Linked DNA regions of Homo sapiens: regions 2 and 3 are each linked to region 1. Evidence: promoter capture Hi-C in human tissues and cell types (Jung and others, 2019). All regions are on one chromosome and are shown on one strand. Each heading gives the region's core, a stretch centred on a gene start or on the middle of the fragment in contact. The rest is flanking DNA. Distances are from core to core; before and after follow the strand shown.

Region 1 (4,951 bases), core at 1,578-4,077:
ACTTTGGGAGGCTGAGGCAGGCAGATCACGAGGTCAGGAGTTTGAGACCAGTCTGGCCAACATGATGAAACCCCGTCTCTACTAAAGATACAAAAAATAGCTGGGCATAGTTGCAGGCGCCTATAATCCCAGCTACTTGGGAGGCTGAGGCAGGAGAATCGTTTGAACCCGGGAGGTGGAGGTTGCAGTGAGCCGAGATCGCACCATTGCACTCCAGCCTGGGCGACAGGGCAAGACTCCATCTCAAAAAAAAAAAATAAAGAAGGAAAGGCAGAGAGGAGGGAAGGCGAGGGAATAGGGAGGGAGGGAGGAGGAAGAAAGGAAAGGAGAAGGAGGGAAGGAAGAAGGGAGAAAAAAGGATGGAGGAGAGAAAGAAGGAACAAAAAAGGGGCTTTGACTATAGGAAAACACAGGTAAAGGCTCATGTGTATAATACTTTTTAGCCTGTGTAAGTCAATATCCTAAAATAACACTTTGTGCCTTGTTTTAAATAGCACCAGATTCACTGTCATTCACAGAGTCACAAAACCATTAACTTCCCTAAAACAACCATTTTCAGAACAGGAATTTGGGCCACGCTGCAATGGTGTCAAATTTCCCCAAAAGCAAGATGAACTAGATCCAGTCCCTGAGCCTAAGAAGTCTAAAATCTCTTCTGGATGGTAAGGCTAATATCCAACAGTCATAATACAAGGCAGAAACGGACAAGGACCAAAAGAGCTTTACAGAAAGGGGGCCATGGTGGCCCATAGAAGTGAGGAGTAATTCCTGCCAGGCATTTGTGAAGAAGGTGGCATCTGGCCAGGACCTTTGAAAGAAATGTGGAAAGGAGGCCTAGTGTGTGCTGGGCAGCCACCTCATCAGTCACTGGATCTTATCCAGTTTGAGATCCCCATTCTACAGATGCTGAAACCAGGGTTCAGGGTAAGGAAGGCAATCAGGTAACTTGCCCAAGGTCATGCATGCAAGGAACACGGAAGCCCCACTCTAATGGAGATTTAAATTCAGGTCTAATATGAGAGTCCAAGTGGCAATGTGTGATGTGCCTGGACCACGTGGTGTGAAATGCACTTGGCCTCTCCTGGGAAGGTTACTCAGACAGAAGCTTTCTTCACAAGCATGCTCCCCATGGCCTCCTCCCTTTCACCTGCACCATGTCTGTCTCCCATTCAAGACTGGCAGCCCCAGCCAGGCACAGTGGTTCATGCCTGTGATCCCAGCATTTTGGGAGGCCAAGGCAGGAGGATCCCTGGAGGCCAGGAGTTTGAGAAAAGGAGACAACACAACGAGGCCCTATCTGTACAAAATATAACAAAACTTAGCTGGGCAAGGCCATGTGTGTCTATAGTTCCAGCTATTCAGGAGGCTGAAGTGGGAGGATTGCTTGAGCCCAGGAGGAAGAGGCTGTAGTGAGCTGTGATTGTGCCACTGCACTCCAGCCTGGGAGATAGAGCAACATTGTCTCAAAAAAAAAAAAAAAAATGTGGCAGCCCCTTGAGGAAGAAAGAGCTCCTATCTTGACAATTTCAGCCAATGCCTGTGAGTACCAGCAGGAGCCTCTATCCCTCTTTGCCCCACCCTGCATCCACGCATTCATTATTTCATTCATACCCCCTCATTTTCTCAACACCCACTTCGTGCCAGGCCCTGAGGTGGCTCTAGGACCGAGAGACAGGGATCACAGAGCTCCCCAGTGGAGTGGAGGGTACAGACATGTTGACAAGAACACTGGAGCCCAGTGCGGGCTGGGGGCATGTGGTCAGACCTGCAAAGCCGGGAGGAGAAGGGGGTCGGAGAAGCTTCGCGGGGAGAATGGGGTGAGGCCTGAGCCCTGTCTCGGAAAGCAGAGGGGCAGGTGGGAAAGTGGAAAAGACATTCCTGGAGGAGAGAACCGAAGGTGCCGAATGTGCAGAGGCAGAGGTCCTGCGATGGGCGAGAAAGTTCGCGAGAATGACCCCAGCACAGGATGAGAACAAAGGAGGGGATCAAAGGAAACGGGCCCTCGGGGGCCGAGTGCTAGAAGGCTCTGAGTGTCAGGAGAGGGAGCGTGGCCTCCATCATGGGGTCAGTAGGGCCACTGCATGGCTTTAAGTCAGGGAAGGACAAGAGAGGTTTCTGTAACTGTGGCTGTAATGATGGAAGCGTCTGGAGGCGGAGAGGAGGCTCCTGCGGCGACCCAAGCTTCAGAGAGAGAGAGAGGAAAGGAAGGGCAGACAGGAAAGCTAGGAAAGATGCACAGAGAGACCAAGGCAGAAAAGGCTGAAGGGAAGACGGCAGCGGTAGGAAGGGCGCAGAGCAGCCTCAGGATGCAGCCAGCGGGCGAGGAGGCGGAGACCCGCTCGCCCGGCGCCTGGACTCACCGCGCAGCCAGCCGGCACCCGCGTGCGTGTCCTTGAGGCGGAAGAGGCGGCGGTGCGCGGAGCTGCGGCCCACGTACCACAGCATCCACAGCAGCTGCAGCAGCATGAGCGCCGTCAGGAAGCACAGCAGGTCGCTCTTGCTCACGCCCGCGGCGTGCACGGCCCAGGCCAGCAGCAGCAGCAGCCCCGCCACGAACACGATCAGCCCATACTGGCTGCTCAGCATCTCGGCCAGTTTCTGTGGGACGCTGGCGCGCACACCGCCCCGCCGGGGGGCCGGGGATTCCGGGGACCTCGGGGCCGAGGACGAGGGAGGCGAGCAGGCCGCTGGCCCCGACGACCCTGCGACCGAGGCGCTTGCAGCTGCCCGGGGCGAGGCGGGCGACCCCAGGCCCTCGAGCATCTTCGAGACACCCGCGCCAAGTCTGGTCCCGGGGGTGGCTGCCGTCGGGCCCCGCCTGCGCTCCTGGCTCCTGTCCTTGCCCCGACGCCTCTGCCAACCAGCACCTCCCTTTTCAACTCCCTTCCGATTCCTACCCCACGCCCCTGCCAACCTGCCCCCTCTCCTGTCACCTCCCGACGCCCGCCCTCCCCTCTTCTGCCCCTTCGTCCTCCGTCAAGGTACCACCCTGTCCACTTACCCAGCGCCCCACCCTGCTGACCTGGGATTCTACGAGCTCCCTTGCCCGCTGCCCCTCACTGGGCAACGCCCGGGGCAGCCATCTGCCCCCTCCGGGACCCACGCGGACAGCTCCCCGCTCCTGATCCCTGGGACACTGGCCAGCCCTGCCGCGACACTAGCGCGTCCTCCCGCACCTCCGCCCGCGCGCCCGGCCCCCGCCCGCCGTCTGCAGCCCTCACCCCTGAGCCGACGCCCGCCCACCCAGCCCCTGTCCGGGCGCCCCGGAAACGCTGGGTGACAAGAAGTGCCTGCCGGGGTCCCGGGGTTGCGGGACTGGGGAGAGGGGGTCTCCCGGAGCCAGCCCGAGGGGGGTGTGCGCGGGGGGCGTGGCTGCTGCCAAGCGGGGCGTCCGGGGCTCCACAGGGGCTTGCGATGCTCCGGGCCTTCCCCGAGGGTCTCCGTTGGGGAACCCAGAGGTCCAGGGGATCCTGCCTGCGTCCGTGTCCGAGCGTCCGACGGTCTGTACTCGTCCCTGCGTATTTCTGTATTGTCTTCTCTGTGCGGGTCACTCTGTGTCTGGCCGTCTGTTATCGGGTGTGTCTGGTTAGGGGTGGAGGAGCGCCCGTCACTGGCTCTCTGAATTGGGGGAGGGGCCGCCTTCTGTGGGTTTTTCTGTTTGTCCGTCTGGTGTGCCTGTGTGTCGGCTGCGAGATGCCCAGGCGCAGAATAAGACCTGAGCCACTTTCTAAGAAAAGAGACCATCCCGCACCCTCCCCCAAAGGAGCGGCAGCCGTTCTGGACCCAGAGGAGCTGGAATGAGGGACGCCCCGGGGTCTGCCCTGTTGCTACCGGCGCCCAAGCGTCTTCACTAGCCCCTTCCAAAGCCCCGGTGCCCGCCTGGCACCCGCCTGCTCCCGGAAGGGGACTGAGTCTGCCAGGGAGCCCCGCTCGGGTGCCGCTAAGTGGAGGTCTGGGAAGTTTCAGCTGAAGAGCGTTCTACGGGTCTGGCGTGGCTGACAGGAGGCGCCGGACCCCAGCCCCCCAGCCGCAGGTTGGAGAGGGGAGTTGGGAGCGAGCCTGGGGCAAGCCCACATCCCACCGTGCAGCAGCCCGGGGCTGGGCCCGGAAGACACCCTCTCGCTCTTGGTTTAAGGTTCTTGCCGTCTTGAAATTCTTAATTTTTGAACAAGAGGGCCCATGTTTTTGTTTTGCGCTAAGCGCAGCAAATTGCAATAGCAGGTCCTGACTAGTAAAGGAGGGGTGGGGAGTCCTGGGCTAGCAAGGAGTCAACCTGGGGGACCTTACCTTGCCACCATCATTCTTCCAATTCACGCATTCATGCATTTGATCAACACATATGTATGTGTTGACCTATGAATCATTTGCTGCTCTCTGTTCTAGCAGCTGGGTTTTCAGCTATGAAAGGCTCTGCTCAGGTGGAGCTGATGTTCAGGTAGAGAAACAGCAATAAACAAACAGCTAATGAGCCCTCACTGGGAAGCTGGGGATCATGACCTGTGAGACTTAGCCCTCAACTTCTAAGAGCTTGGGAGTGGGGACAGAGTAAGCAGCACAACACCCTTGAGCAGGGCTACAACCAGGGGCCTGGGAGGAGTCCAGGTCTGCAGGAAGGCTGAGAGGTTCAGGGAGGAGGCAACACCTGCACAGTCTTCTTTCTTTCTTTCTTTCTCTTATTTTTATCTTTTAATAAGGACAGGGTCTCCCTGTGTCTCCCAGGCTGGAATGAAGTGGTGTGATTATGGCTCACTACAGCCTCGAATTCTGGGGCTCAAGTGCTCCTCCCGCCTCAGCCTCCCGAATAGCTGGGACTACAGGTGTGTGCTACCACGCCTGGCTCATTTTTTTTAAATTGTTTTTTTGTAGAGACGGGTCTCACTATGTTGCTCAGGTTGATCTCAAACTCCTGGGCTCAAGCCATCCTCCTACCTCAGCCTCCCAAAGCACTGGG
Region 2 (4,951 bases), core at 1,334-3,833, 200 kb after region 1:
TTCTCCCTCAACACAACTCTCGGAATCACTCCCTTCTGTCCCAGGGTTAAGGGCCCCGAGCAGAGTGTGACCGCAAGCTTTGTGTTTCCCAGTAACATGATGTCCGTGGTGACCCAACCCTGAGGACTGAGCTTGGGAAACAGTCCCCTCAACAGGATGGCTGTAGTGTCCTCTGTAAGCAGGGGCCAGGCTCTGACCCCTCGGTGGGGGCCAACGAGCTACCCATGTACATCCCTGGACATGAAGAGCTGGCCTGACCCTGCCAGGAGTACCCCCACCCACCCTGGATTGCTCCTTTGGAGGCTGGTGAGCCACTGCCTCTCGAAAGCAGCTGGAGGTGGGCGACAGGTGGTGGGTCTCATGAACACACGCAGCTCCGCGGTCACACAATTTTGTGATCAGCCCCGTGAGCTCTGCCCAGCAAGGCTCCTGGGCAGCTGTGCCGGCGAGACTAACACCCGCTGCTGGGACTCAGTGCTGCGCCACGTCGCACCTGGGGAACCTAAACAGTGCCTACCTCTCTTATGTCTTCGTTGCCTTCCTTGATATTTTCAGTTGCCCCCACAACTAACTGGTGAATGCTGTCAATCTCAGCTTCCTGTGGAAGAAAAGATAAATACAAGTTGAGTATCCTTTATCCAAAAACCTGAAACCCAAAATGCTCCAACGAGCATTTCCTTTGAGTGTCATGTCAGCGCTCAGAAAGTTTCAGATTTTGGAGCACTTAGGACTTCACATTTTGAAGTTTAGGGATGCTTGACATATACAGCCACTTCCTCCTCCCTGAAGCGTATATCATGACAAGAACAGTAGCCGTCACCAAGGGCTAACGGCTTTACTTGCATAGCCACAAATCCTCACAGCACCCCAAGAAGTAGGTATTACCTCTATTTTATGAAACGGAAACTCACGGCTCAGAGAAGTTTACTAACTTGCCCAAAGTCACATCACACAGCAACCAAGTGGCAGGACTGAGACTTTTTTTTTTTTTGAGACAGGGCTTAAACGATCCTCCCACTTCAGCCTCCCAAGTAGCTGGGAGTATAGGCATGTGCCACCACGCCTGGCTAAATTTTTAAAATTTTTTGTAGAGATGGGGGGTCTCCCTATGTTGCCCAGGCTGGTCTTGAACTCTTGAGCTCACACCATGCTCCCGCCTCGGCCTCCCAGAGTGCTGGGATTACAGGCATGAGCCACCGCGCAGGGCTGAGACCCCATCTTGTTGCAGTGCTCCTTCCGCCACACTTACCATCCCTCCTGCGCCACTCGCCGGTGACGGACAAAAACCTAAGAGCTATTGTTTGTGGAGCAGCCACCATATGCCAGGGGCTTCCCTTCTAGTCTCTCATTTCTTTCTGAAGTCCACAGAAGTAAGCTTTAAAATGTATGTGCTTCGAAATACATATGCTAGCTTCAAAAATAGTGCTTTGTGTTTTACTATCATCATATCTCTTAAAAAACAGGCTAAAATTTAAAAATCAAAATAGGATGCAGGATGCTTACAGAAAACGTTTACTCCAAACGAAGCCTTGAAAAGCTTGAGAAGCGTGGGATAACACAGGGGGCGTCTGGCCCCACAGGAGCAGAGACGGTGCTAGACGTCCTTACAAGCAGGAGTGCCTGCTTCTCTCCTCCTTTCGGTGGTGGTGAAGCTGCTTCCTAACAGGGTCAGGGCAGAATGAATGCTAGCGTGGGTTTTTAGAGAAACCTGACTGACACATTGTAGGGAGGAAGGCAGCATGTGGCCTCTGATTCCCAGCAATGAATATTACTGGGATGGCTTTGCCTCATCATCACCCCTTTTTAGAGAGTCTCAAAGTGTGAACTAAGTGACCACTGCCAAGGTTCCAATGAGAGAATCAATATGAACTACAATGCAACACTGATGGAAAAAACAAGAAAGACACATTGTTCCTCAGGACTTAGGAACTCCCAGTGGGCCGGGCGCAGTGGCTCTCGTCTGTAATCCCAGCACTTTGGGAGGCCAAGGCAGGTGGATCACCTGAAGTCAGGAGTTCGGGACCAGCCTGGCCAAGATGGTGAAACCCCGTCTTTACTAAAAATACCAAAATTAGCCAGGCGTGGTGGCATGCCTGTAATCCCAGCTACTCAAGAGGCTGACTGAGGCAGGAGAATCGCTTGAACCTGGGAGGATGAGGTTGCAGTGAGCCAAGATAGCAACATTGCACTCCAGCCTGGGCGACACAGCAAGACTCTGTCTCCAAAAAAAAAAAAAAGAAAAAGAAAAAAAAAGAAAAGAAAAAGAAACTCCCGGTGAGCCAAGGCAAGGCTCTGCCTATGCTCTGCACGCCCCTCCCAGGCCCCCTGGAGCCGCTGGGAGGTTTGAAGCAGGGTAGTGTTATTAAAAAGGGCGACTCCTATGAACCCGAACTTGCAAACCACTGTTAGACTTAATGTACCTCATTTACAATGATTTCACTCTGGCTGTGTGGTTTATGGAAAGTCATTTTGTGAGTGAAGTATCTTAAGTCAAGTAGTCCAGTTTAAAATACTGGAGAAAATTTTGTCTTTCAAACGTTCCCATAGTCTTTGGATGCTAAAAATAAAAGGGCAAATTTATCAGGTCTTGAAAAGTTTTGCCAGTTATTGGCTGGAAGAATTTCAGAAAATTCACTTGAAAAGAACAATCCTATTTCCCACGCAGACACCATCCCTGAGGTGGCATGGACCGCGCGTTGTGAGAGGCCTGGGTCTGAGCTCCTGTAACCTACTGACTGAAAAGCAACTGCCCGTCAGCATCGTGCTGGATGCTTCTGCAGTTATCTCTCAAACAGAGAATAACCCTGCAGGAGTCCCTCCCTCCTATAGATGGGAAACTGTAGCTTGTGGGGGCTACCTAGCTTACCCAGCACATCCAGAACCCTGACTGCCAGGCCTGGACTCTCCTCCCACGTGCCACCGCATGTGCTACCACATGGGGTGGTCAGTGGGTCCCCTGTGGGGAGCTCCTCCTCCATCACACGTGTGCAGAGGCAGCTCTGGGTAGTGAGAGCTTTTCCCTGAGGAGCTCTGCGCACACACACCTGCTAGCAACACATGGCTCTGCTCCTGGCTGTGTAGAGCAGCAGCCTTTGGGAAAAATGTCTCGTGCTCTCAAGTACATTCCCCTTTGAGTGAAAACATACAGCTCCTTTGTTTTTGTTTTTTTACCTGTTGCAAAACCTTTTCCGTGAATATCTCTTGGAGTCTGGAAATCTCAACCACTCTCCCTTCGATTTGCCTTCATAAAAAGAACAGATTACATATTAACTATTAGCACTTGGTAATCTAACAGGACTGTTACACACTTCTAAAGAAATCCTATCTTCTACGTGAAGGTGGGAGAGACAGGGGGCACACTGTGTCGGCTGGGGGAAGAGGAGATGGGAGAGGAAGGCGAACTCTCCTTACTGGGTCACCTTCCCTGTCTTCTGGCATAGCCTAGCACACTGGTCTTTTTGGAAGTCCACTCTACCATGCCAACTGACCCTCAGTCCCAAGAGGTGGGTGTGTGCAGTGCCCTTTGCATTCTGTGTCACTGCTCGGGGAATGGGGAGGGCCTGGTTGTGCCCCAGTTACAGAAAGCAGTCTCCAGTAAGTTCTCTGCCTAGCCTCATCACCATGGTAACACATGGTGGGGATTCAGAAGGTCAGAATATGCTGATGATCCAGCTTTGTTAATGCTCAGCAGGTTAAAGAAAAAAGTGTATTTACCTTCAAACCAACTCCCTGTTCCAAGAAAAAAGCTCCTCTGATTCATTTAGAAAATGCCATGTCTTGGTTTGGCAACGGAGTGTTCTGTCGGATCTGAAACACTTGGGCTAGCCATCTTCCTGGTGTCAGGGGCAGCATGGGCTACCCTGGGGGGCGGGTGGGGGCACATCTATTTAGAAACAGAAGCTGGCCCAAGCTGAAGTCAACTGCTGTTCCAGCACAAAGCAGCGACAGGAAGTGACAGGAGGCAAAAAGTGGTGGGAGCTGAGCTCCTGGCCAGGTGGAAGCAGTGATGAATCCCAACAGTATCACAGTGGCAGGGGGCAGGGGAGGAGATGTGGGAAGAAAAGCCAGTGAGTATCTGGGCATGGGGGAGTAGCGGGGTGGGGGCGGTAGTGGGGCAGACAGTGAAAGCTAGGCTGTCAGAGGAGGACTAGGAGGTCCATCTCTGAGGGCAGAAGGCGAAGAGCCCCTTGGAGGCTGACACCTACACTGAGAAAGTCCTCAGGCTGTGTGAGTGCAGCATCAGGATTGATTTTATTTGGGGGACATGTCCACAATACAACAGGCTCTGCAAAGTCCTGGGCCTTACTTTCAGCATGCTCCAAGCCTTCCCACAGAAACTAGAGGCTAACGGGTGCATGTGTGAGTGACCAAGGCCTTGCCTTCTGCATTCCTGACTCCCTGGTGGGTACAGGAGCAGGCAGACCCCAGTGGAACCATTTGCAGAAGAGGGCTTCCCTTGGTTAGCTGCCCTTCATAAGGGCCCCATTTCATTTCAGAGTCGCTGCGTGGAAACAGCCCGAATGGTGGTGGAAATTATACGCAGGTAATCTGTAGTCACTCCTGTATCTCTCGGGGTGGGAAGCACCTGGGCCCCCCGCAGCAGTGGCAGCAGGCAGGAGGTAACCCACAGGCCCACAAGCTGAGGGAGTTGTGGATTCAGGCCACATGCCCACCCCAGCCCAGTCAAAATGGCTGAGGGGGGCTGCACCAGCCCAAGGGCCCCATGGGGATGCCTGGGCACCAAGGTAAATAAAGTTCCTAGTTCCTGGAAAAGTTGTAAAGCAGGCTATCAGCTCACAGAGGAGCTACAAACATACCTCACTTCATCAAACAAGCTGTTCATTTCACCAATTAGTCGCTGATTTTCCTGTTCAAACTGTGAGGAAACAGACACACTCAGGATGACATCATACTGAACTTAGGCAAGAGTCTAGCAAGAAAGCGGACCTAC
Region 3 (4,951 bases), core at 845-3,344, 130 kb after region 1:
CCCTCTTTTGGTCAGCTTAGCTTGCCCATTTATGTTGGGATCAAAAGAATCACACCAAAGATTCCTGCCCCAGTAGCACTAGAGATATGGGATGGATATCCAGACAAGAGTGTATCCACACCATTATATTACAAGGCACTGACTGGCATCCCACTGAAAGGGCACAGTGACTAGGTATTCATTGGTTAGCTGCAAATGGAACATCTTTGCTGTGCGGGCACCAACTATGGCCGTGGTTACCCATAGGATGGTTAAGACGGTATTTTTTGGGTTATGCCTGGGCACAAGGTTGAATAGTTTATACTCTTTCAAAGCCCACAAATCTTCCTCACTTATATAATCATTGAGTTCATTGGGTTCATTCTGTATGCCATTGGTGTGATCATTTAGCTTCCATCTTTCTGCCACAACTAGGTATTAAGGATGTCATTTGGCTTGCAGAGGCCCTAGCCATTTATACACAAAAGGCCCTAGATGATAGCCACATGGGCATCTCGTTATTAAACAACAAAGTTACTCTTATGAGAAAGGCCGTATCACAGAACTGTGTGTTGTGCCGAACCCCTATTAACCTCAGTAGGGAAGGCACAAGATTCAAGAGGCTAAGCGACCCAAAGCCAGCAAACAAGACACGGGGTTTTATCAGGGGGCTTACGCACAGGGGAGAGAATCCAGTGGCTGTGGGCTAGACAAGAGAACCCCCTTATGTATAGAAACCATCTAGGCTGGGCGTGGTGGCTCAGGCCTGTAATCCCAGCGCTTTGGGAGGCCGAGGTGAGTGGATCACCTGAGGTCAGGAGTTCGAGACCAGCCTGACCAACATGGAGAAACCCCGGCTCTACTAAAAATACAAAACTAGCCAGGCGTAATGGCGCATGCCTGTAATCCCAGCTATTCAGGAGGCTGAGACAGAAGAACTGCTTGAATCCGGGAGGCGGAGGTTGCAGTGAGCTGAGATTATGCCATTGCACTCTAGCCTGGGCAACAAGAGTGAAACTCTGTCGGAAAAAAAAAAGAAAGGCTCTAGTGATGGCAGGCTGAGCAGGGAAACCACAAATGCTTGCAAACAGCATGCAGTTCATATAGCATTTTCACTTAACACTTTCTCCCCTTAACAACCTACACCTGGCAACCTTCATTTAACCCAAAACTCAGAACCTCAGTGCCCTGTATGGCCCACATTCAATGGGATGGGATGGGAACTCAGATGTTTACCATAGATACGGAATGAATCTCCAGGTTGTCCACTCCCAGGTTCTCTAGTTGGGAACACACATTCAGGTGCATCTTCCACACAGGGTCAGTCTAAGGATATGCTTAAATGTTTGCTGTCAGGTGCATTTACCTGACACCATATGACTTTAGACATACTCACTGCAGCCCAAGGGGGAACCTATGCTATCATAAAAACTGGCTGCTGTATCTATATCCCAGGTAACATCACTAAATTGATGGCTGATATGAAAACTCAAATAATTATCCTTTCAGATCCAATGCCCTCCCTAAACGACTGGCTAAGCAGCTGGTTGGGATCTTGGGAAACTTGGTGGCAAAAGCTATTACTCGTTCTAGAAATTATCATCATTGTTTGGTTTTGTCTTCTTCTTTTTTTTTTCTTTTTTGAGACGGAGTCTCACTCTGTCACCCAGGCTGGAGTGTAATGGCACAACCTCGGCTCACTGCAACCTTCGCCTCCCAGGTTCAAGCGATTCTCCTGCCTCAGCCTCCCAAGTAGCTGGGATTACAGGTGCCCACCACCAAGCCCGGCTAATTTTTGTGTTTTTAGTAGAGACGGGGTTTCACCATGTTGGCTAGGCTGGTCTCGAACTCCTGACCTCAAGTGATCCACCCACCTTGGCCACCCAAAGTGTTGGGATTACAGGCATGAGCCACTGTGCCCAGCGGGTTTTGCCTTCTTTTTGTCTTCACTGCTGCTACAGAATGTATTTGCAAGGGAGTCAACTCACAACTGAAGAAATGAAATTAATGGTCACTTGAAGAACTGCATTAACTGAAGATGCAGCGGAGTAGCCTGACTCAGGTCACAAAGTCACTTCCCTCATATTGCTTTAAATTAGGTTGCTACCTTATCAGGTTGATAGCCTGACATTCCCCCTACCATGGACATGACACTCTAGGAATGAGCCTTCTAGCAATAAGGGACTAAGGTCCTGAACATAAAAGGAGCCAAAACCATTTGAGTTCATCTATGAAGCTTTCTTCCAAAGATCTTGATGAAAAGGGGGAAATGTGAAGTTAAATAATTCAAGCTTAAAGCTGTTGAAACCTCGAATTAACCTGAGCCTTGAGAGCAATGTGGCTATGCAATCTCGGTCACATGGGTTGCAGCTGCAACTTCTGCCTTTATTTCTTCTTGTTAGTAATTAAGAAGACCCAAGCTGCACCAGAGATGAGACCCCCTCAGATCATTGCCCCTCCTCATGGAGTAATAAAGTAATCTTCCTTGGTATGAAGCAATCTGTAACCAATCCAATTGCTGTGATGTATGCACCTGGCCTTGTAGGGTAGCTGATGTAATCTTCCTGGAACTTCTCTACTGATATCAATGAAACCTTAACTCCTCCACGTTGGAAACTCTGAGCCCATTCCTTTGGAGTTGGTACTTTCACTGGTAGCCATCCTTAAGCTTTGCACTTGAATAAACTCTATACTCAATCACACTTTCTGAATCTCATTCTTTAAGGTTAACACTTCCTTCCAAAGGCTCTAGGTGACAACTCTTTGCCTCTTTTCAACCTCTGGTGGCTCTAGGCGTTTCTTGGCTTGTAGCCGCCTCACTCCAATGTCTGCCTCCATTTCATGTGGGGTCCTCCTCTGTCTTCTATGTGTCTCTTACAAGGTCACTGTCATTAGATTTAGGGTTCAGGATCATCTGGGATGATCTCATCCCGAGATCCTCAATTTGGTTATATCTGCAAAGATCTTTATTCCAAATAAGGTGACATTCACAGTTTCCGATGGTTAGGACATGGCCATCTCTTTTTGGAGGTCAGCTTTCAACTCATTCAATACACCTGTAGTCAGTGTATTTATAATTCATTTCAATTCATTTCATTTCTATTCAGTGTTTCATTTTAATCCAATTCACTTCCATCAATATTGATTTTACACCAGCCATGTAACAGGCCTGACAAGTTCCAGAGATAACTGACGTGGGTCCTCCCTTGGAAATGGTTCCCCCTCTAATGAGGCAATAGGAGAGACGGAGACAGACAGAGGAGAGGGGCGGCTAGCTCTCCCTGTAGGCTTGGGGTGGTGCTTCCAGAAAAGGTGACATAGGAGCACAGTGGTTGGATGAGGAGGAGGCTGCTCTTTAGGAAGCCAAGGGACCAGCCTGCTAACAGCACAGCAGTGGACGGCTAGTCCCGCAGGGACCAACGAGCCTGCCGTGGAGGATGCTGGGAGAGCAGGGGAGACGTGGCCCAGGTCGCAGCTCAGGGGGAGCAGGACCCCCAGGCCTGCTGGTGGACCAAGTATTCCCGGGGTCTCAGAACATCCCCGGCCAAGCCCTCTCCACCCCCAGCACCCCTTGCGCACACAGGGCCACGGCTGTTGGATGCCGGGTCTGGGGCCTCCTTGGGACTATGAGGCTAGATTCTCTCTTTACAGTCGGGAAAAATGGCCACCTCGCCTGTAGCATTATATTCACCAGATTAAAGGCGGGCATTAAATGGCTGCTCGCCAATGGCCTCCTTTATCCCGAGAGCTATTCCCCCTCCTCCCTCCTCCCTCCTCCCTGAGCCTCTGTGATTCAGGAAAAGTCAATCTAGAGGAGATAAGGCCAGGCACATAAATATCCCTCCCTTCCTTTGTGGCAAAATCTCCTGCTTGGAACACATTCCTTGAGTGTAAATTTGGGTCCTTCTCTGGAGAGTTCACCCCCGCGGCCCTCACCCTCACCCCCACACAGAGCTCTTGCAGTTCCGATGCACAGGGTCGCCCCTGTGAGCTGCTGGAAGGCAGGAGCGCACCTCCCACGCTCCCTGCGCCTTTCTGCTCTGTCTGCTGTCTCCCTGCACAACCTCAGTCCTGGCTGCTCAGGGCTCTCCCCAGGCAGAGGCCTCTTTGTCCAGTTGGAGCTGCAGAGACATTTTCTGTTGGAGACGAACGTGCTCTGCAGGGAGCTATTTGGCCTTGGGCGTGTTACCCCTTCCTGCCTCTCTGTGTGCACATCTGTAAAATGGAGACAATAACTGCTTTTACTTCACTGGGTTTTTTAAATCGAGGTAAATAATATATATAACATAAAATTTGACATTTTATGTTACCATTTTTTAATTTAATTTTATTTTGAGATAGAGTTTCACTCTTTTTGCCCAGGCTGGAGTGCAATGGCACGATCTCGGCTCATTACAACCTCCACCGCCCAGGTTCAACCGATTCTCCTGCCTCAGCCTCCCCAGTAGCTGGGATTACAGGCATGTGCCACCACACCCGGCTAATGTTGTATTTTTGTAGAGACGGGGTTTCTCCATGTTGGTCAGGCTGGTCTCGAATTCCTGACCTAAGGTGATTTGCCCACCTTGGCCTCCCAAAGTGCTGGGATTACAGGCATGAGCCACCGCACCCGGCCTATGTTACCATTTTAAAATGCCATTCATTGGTATTAATTTCATTCACAGTGTCGTATAACCATCATCACAATCTATTTCCACGACTTTCTCATCACCCCAAACAGACACTCTGTACCCATGAAGCAATAGCTCCCTATGGTCTCCCCCAGCCCCTGTAGCCTCTAATCTACTTTTTGCCTCTTTGAATTTGACTTCCAGCTACCTCACATGAGTGGAATCACACACTGTTTGTCCTTTTGTGACTGCTTTTTAAATTTAGACTAAGGGCTTCCAAATTCATCCCTGTTGGCGCATGTGTCAGAATGTCCTTCCTTTTTAAGGCTGGACAATACTTTACTGTACGGACAGACCACATT

The links. The method cuts DNA at HindIII sites, captures the fragments that hold promoters and counts their contacts. A contact is called where the count stands out against the background at its distance.
Region 2: a fragment that was not itself captured here is called in contact with the fragment with the promoter of OTOP1 in region 1 in 2 of the 25 tissues and cell types used here (heart right ventricle and lymphoblastoid cells).
Region 3: a contact is called between a fragment that was not itself captured here and the fragment with the promoter of OTOP1 in region 1, in 4 of the 25 tissues and cell types used here (bladder, dorsolateral prefrontal cortex, mesenchymal stem cells and 1 more).

What each region holds. Positions count from the first base shown.
Region 1 is chr4:4,224,102-4,229,052 of GRCh38, forward strand. It overlaps OTOP1 (otopetrin 1), which reads right to left and starts at 2,828. Exons shown (of 6, transcript NM_177998.3): 1 at 2,361-2,828. The coding sequence starts at 2,763. RefSeq lists enhancers at 1,958-2,578, 3,200-3,820. The HindIII fragment of the contact is 12,453 bases long and covers 1,991-4,951 here.
Region 2 is chr4:4,420,347-4,425,297 of GRCh38, forward strand. It overlaps STX18 (syntaxin 18), which reads right to left. Exons shown (of 11, transcript NM_016930.4): 8 at 4,818-4,876; 9 at 3,172-3,241; 10 at 518-598. Among named protein-coding and RNA genes, the nearest start is that of NSG1, 36 kb to the left of the region's middle. The HindIII fragment of the contact is 3,714 bases long and covers 727-4,440 here.
Region 3 is chr4:4,352,947-4,357,897 of GRCh38, forward strand. No RefSeq gene overlaps it. Among named protein-coding and RNA genes, the nearest start is that of NSG1, 32 kb to the right of the region's middle. The HindIII fragment of the contact is 3,687 bases long and covers 252-3,938 here.